2 separate regions of the Homo sapiens genome follow, and region 2 is linked to region 1. Evidence: promoter capture Hi-C in human tissues and cell types (Jung and others, 2019). All regions are on one chromosome and are shown on one strand. Each heading gives the region's core, a stretch centred on a gene start or on the middle of the fragment in contact. The rest is flanking DNA. Distances are from core to core; before and after follow the strand shown. Region 1 holds the start of PLVAP (plasmalemma vesicle associated protein). Region 2 has its middle 12 kb from the start of KCNN1.

Region 1 (2,651 bases), core at 104-2,603:
TGATCAACATAGCGAGACCCCACGTCTACTAAAAATAAAAAATGACCTGGGCATAGTGGCATGTCCATAGTGCCAGCTACTCAAAAGGCTGAGGCAGGAGGATTGCTGGAGCCCAGGATGTCAAGGCTTCAGTGAGCTATGCTCACATCACTGTGCTCCAGCCTGGGTGACAGAGTGAGACCCTGCCTCCAAAAAAAAGAAAAGAAATAAAAAAAATTTAGCTGGACGCAGTGCCCCACACCTGTAATCCCAGCAGTTTGGGAGGCTGGGGTGAGAGGATTGCTTGAGCCCAGGAGTTCGAGACTAGCCTGGGCAACATAGTGAGACCTCATCTCTGCTAAATATAAACATATTAGCTGGGTGTGGTGGTGCACGCCTGTAGTCCCAGCTACTCAGGAGGCTGAGGCAAGAGGATCACTTGAGTCCAGGAGATTGAGGTTGCAGTGAGCTGTGATAGCAATTGCACTCCATCCAGCCCAGGATACACATGGAGACCCTGTCTCTTAAGGAAAAAAAAAAAATCTATCGGCCGGGTGCAGTGGCTCACGCTTGTAATCCCAACAATTTGGGAGGCCAAGGCAGGCGTATCACTTGAGGTCAGGAGTTTGAGACCAGCCTGGCCAACATGGTGAAACCCCATCTCTACTAAAAATACAAAAATGAGCCGGTTATGATGGCACATGCCTGTAATCCCAGCTACTCGGGAGGCTGAGGCAGGAGAATCACTCCAACCCAGGAGGCAGAGGTTGCAGTGAGCCGAGATTGCACCACTGCACTCCAGCCTGGGAGACGGAGCGAGACTCTGTCTCATAAGAAAAGAGAGCATTGGTCCTGTGATCGTCCCCCTCTCTTGGATGAGGAAACTCAGGCTCAGAGAGGTGAGGGGGCTTGCTCAGGGTCCCCAGGGCGAGTGTCCTGCCCACAGCCTTACCCGGTCACCCTGGCACTGGCGGAAGCTGGCATTGATGCGGTCCAGGTCGCGGCGAGCATTCAGCCACATCTGCATGATGGCATCCTTGGCGCGGGTGGTGAAGTTGAGCTCCTTGGTCAAGTTGGACTGGGAGGCCGTGAGCCCTAGGAGCTGACTGTATAGGCCCTCGGCTCGGCGCTCGGTGGCCTGCAGGTTGGACTCTGTGCTCACGTGCACGTTGCCATAGACCATGAAGAGCACGAGCCCCAGGATGATGAGGAATTGGATGAGGGAGACGAAGAGGAAGAAGTAGCGCAGGTAATACCAGCAGCCCCGAGAGCTGCCCCCCGCCCGAGCGTAGGACCCTCCGTGCTCCATGGCCAGACCCATTTGCTCGATCCCGCCGTCCGGTGCACCGTCCCTGCTCACCACCAGGCCTGCTCTGGCCCCCGCCTCGCAGGGGGGAGTGCTTATATTACTCCTCTTAATACTTCCTCTGCCTGGCTCCTTCCTGGCCCGGAGGAAACGGGGGCTGCGGGTTATCACAACACTCCCACTCTGGCTGTGAGAAGGCGGGGGTGGGGCTGGGGGCCCAGAGCCAGGGCACCGGCTGGACCCCTCTGATTAATGCTGGGTGGGGCGCTGGCTGGCTGGTCAGGCATTCCTGGCCTCTTCGAGCCTCGCGTTCGCCTTTACTTGCTGGCGGGTGCTGTTCTCAGTACCTGCTGTGATTAGGTCGCTGAATCATGCCAGGTCTGTTGCTGTCTCCCTTGTGTGGCGGAGGAAACTGAGGCACAGGGAGGAGAAGGGGTTGCCTCGGGGTCTCACGCTGTTAGTTCAGCGAACTTGACTTACCTCAAGACAGGCTGGCTACAGACGTGCACCCACTTCACCAGGGCGGTGCTGATTAAGTGCCACAAAACGTGGGAAATGTGCCAGGCACGGTGGCTCACGCCTATAATCCCAGCACTTTGGGAGGCTGAGGCGGACGGATCACCTGAGGTCAGAAGTTTGAGACCAACCCGGTCACCGTGGTGAAACCCCCCGTCTCTACTAAAAATACAAAACTTAGCCAGGTGTGGTGGTGCTCGCCTGTAATTCCAGCTACCCAGGAGGCTGAGGCAGGAGAATCGCTTGAACCCAGGAGTCGGAGGTTGCGGTGAGCAGAGATCGTGCCATTGCACTCCAGCCTGGGGTATAGAGCAAGACTCTGTTTCAAAAAAAAAAAAAAACAGAAAAAGTGTGAAACTCTTAGCTAGCCTAGGGATGGAGAAGCAGTAGGTGATTAGTAATTGCATAGGAGGGCGTCACGGAGGGCTGAGCCATGGATGGCGGTGGCGCTGGCTCCCCAAGCTCTGTCATTGCCCCCAGTGCCCTGTTCACTTAGATGCTCAGTAAATGCTCCAGGAAACTGCAGCACAAGGAATAATGAACTTGGAGCGGGGAAGAGCTGGCTTTGTCCCGGGAGAGCTCGGGCAAGAGGCCTCGCATGTCTGTGCCTCCCTTTTCCCCTTTGTGAGACGGGGTATACCCAGTGCCTCGTCACTCTGTGGCTGTTGTTATGATTAGGATCATTTCCTGCTGGAGGCACTGCTGGGGGCTCCGTGAGATGGTGAATGACAAGTGGTGGATACGTGGGACTGAGATTCCTCCCCCGACACTCAAAACCCCATGGGCGGCCGGGCATAGTGGCTCACACCTGTAATCTCAGCACTTTGTGAGGCTGAGGCAGGCGGATCAC
Region 2 (2,651 bases), core at 87-2,586, 580 kb after region 1:
AGTTCGAGACCAGCCTGGGCAACGTACTGAAACCCTGTCTCTACAAAAAATTAAAAAAATTAGCCAGGTGTAGTGGTGCACACTTGTAGTCCAAGCTACTTGGGGGCCGAAGGTGGGAGGATCGCTTGAGCCCGGGAAGTCAAGGCTGCAGTGAGCCATGTTCATGCGACTGCACTCCAGCCTGGGTGACAAAATGTCACCTCCCTGAATGTCACCCACCTAGATCTCCCCATGGCGAAGGAACTAGGGGCAATGTGAGGGGGTGAGCAGGAACAGCATTGGGAAAGACAGATAAAGCATTCAGTGTCTAGCTTCTGGAGCCCAGTGAAAGGAGGAGTGGCCTTAGGGAGGGGACATGGAAGAGGTGGGGCTAGCCCAGGGCCCCATTGGAGTGATAAAGCCACTGTTCTTAAGCTTCCTGAAAGCTTAGGAGATGACCCAGCTCAGCAACACCAAGCCAGAGCGCAGATCTGCTGTAAAGACCATTGTACGTAATAGGCTGAAGCAGGTGAATCACCTCTGGCCAGGAGTTCAAGTCCAGCCTGGCCAACACAGCAAAACCCCATCTCTACTAAAAATACAAAAAGTAGCCGGGCATGGTGGCAGGCACCTGTAATCCCAGATGCTTGGGAGGCTGAGGCAGGAGAATTGTTTGAACCCTGGAGGCGGCAGTTGCAGTGAGCTGAGATCACATCACTACACTCCAGCCTGGGTGACAGAGCAAGACTCTGTCTCAAAAAAATAAAAAATAAGAAAGACCACTGTAGTCCGGGAGCTGTCTGCACCCTACTCTTTTGGGTCCCCGCCTCCACCCCGCACCCCCTGTCTGATCATTACAGATCTCAAAGGGACAGGAAAGGCAGCAGCAGCCACCCTCTCTCCCAGTCAAGTGGTCACCAGCAGGACTGAAGGGGACAGCCCCTTTGCAGTGGCTCGGCGAGGAGACCCCTGCACCCTAGGGTGAGTGAATCCCAGACTTGGGTCGCCTTTGGGGGTGGGGGTGGCTCAGGGGTTGGATAGAAAAATTGGTAACTGGGCAGGCTAGGTGGCTCACGCCTGTAATCCCAGCACTTTGGGAGGCTGAGGCAGGTGGATCACTTGAGGTCAGGAGTTTGAGGCCAGTTTGGCCGACATGGCGAAACCCCGTGTCTACTAAAAATACAAAAATTGCCCGGGGATGGTGGTGGGCACCTGCAATCCTAGCTACTTGGGAGGCTGAGGCAGGAGGACCACTTGAATCCGGGAGGCAGAGGTTGCAGTGAGCCAAGATCGCGCCACTGCACTCCAGCCTGGGCGACAGAGCAAAGCTCTGTTTCAAAAAAAAAAAAAAAAAGGTGACCTGAGGAAAAAGTGCCAGCTTTTGAAATAATAACAAGCTGGGTACAGTGGCGTGCACCTGTGGTCCTAGCTACTCGGAAGGCTAAGGTGGGAGTATCGAGTCCAGGAGTTCGAGGCTGCAGTGAGCTATGATCACGCTTGTGAATGGCCACTGCACTCCAGCCTAGGCGACAGAGCGAGACCCCCATCTCTTTAATTAAAAAAAAAAAAAAGAAAAAAGGCCAGACGTGGTGGCTTACGCTTGTAATCCCAGCACTTTGGGAGGCCAAGGCAGGCAGATCACCTGAGGTCAGGAGTTCGAGACCAGCCTGGCCAACAGGGTGAAACCCCCATCTCTACTAAAAATACAAAATTAGCCAGGCATGGTGCTGCATGCCTGTAATCCCAGCTACTTGGGAGGCTAAGGCAGGAGAATCACTTGAACCCAGGAGGCGGAAGTTGCAGTGAGCCGAGATTGTGCCATTGCACTCCAGCCTGGGCAACAAGAGTGAAACTCCATCTCCAAAAAAAAAAAAAAAAAGAAAGAAAGAAAAAAAATAATAATATAATTATTATTATATCATATATATCATGATGATGATAGCAAGGACTATGCTTTCTAGAGCCTCCGGGGAGTTACTGTCCACTTTCTTTGATCACTGGAGTTGGGGAAACTATTCAGAGAGGCCAGATGACCTAGAAGTGGGGTGTTGAGCCAGGTTGGAAGAGCTCTGTCCCACCACTCCCGCCCCCGCCCCCCACACACAGCCTCTACTTCCCGGCTCTCGTGGTCTCGCTGGAGACAGCCCCCAGGGTAGGCCAGCTCTGTGGAAGGCAGCTCCTGTGCTCCTTTCTCCAGTGAACTTTTTTTTTTTAGTTTTGTTTTGTTTTGTTTTGTTTGTTTGTTTTGAGACAGAGTCTGACTCTGTCGCCCAGGCTGGAGCGCAGTGGCATGATCTTGGCTCACTGCAACCTCCACCCTCCACCCCACCGGGTTCAAGCGATTCTCCTGCTTCAGCCTCCCAAGTAGCTGGGATTACAGGCATGCGTCACCACGCACAGCTAATTTTTGTGTTTTCAGTAGAGATGGGGTTTCCCCATGTTGGCCGGGCTGGTCTCGAACTCCTGACCTCAGGTGATCCACCTGTCTTGGCCTCCCAAAGTGCTGGGATTGCAGGCGTGAGCCACTGAGCCAGGCCTCCTTGGTGAACACTGACTGACATCCAGGGTCAGCACTAAGCTGCCCATGGGGGTGTGGAGAAAACAGAGGTGGTGGTCATTTAGTCAATCAACAAACACTGAGCAAGCTAGCTACTGTCTGCCAGGCCCTAGGC

What was found. The method cuts DNA at HindIII sites, captures the fragments that hold promoters and counts their contacts. A contact is called where the count stands out against the background at its distance.
Region 2: a fragment that was not itself captured here is called in contact with the fragment with the promoter of PLVAP in region 1 in 1 of the 25 tissues and cell types used here (dorsolateral prefrontal cortex).

What each region holds. Positions count from the first base shown.
Region 1 is chr19:17,375,989-17,378,639 of GRCh38, forward strand. PLVAP (plasmalemma vesicle associated protein) reads right to left here and starts at 1,354. Exons shown (of 6, transcript NM_031310.3): 1 at 932-1,354. The coding sequence starts at 1,300. The HindIII fragment of the contact is 34,336 bases long and covers 1-2,651 here.
Region 2 is chr19:17,953,722-17,956,372 of GRCh38, forward strand. It overlaps a transcript of KCNN1 not described here. Among named protein-coding and RNA genes, the nearest start is that of KCNN1, 12 kb to the right of the region's middle. The HindIII fragment of the contact is 4,437 bases long and covers 1-2,651 here.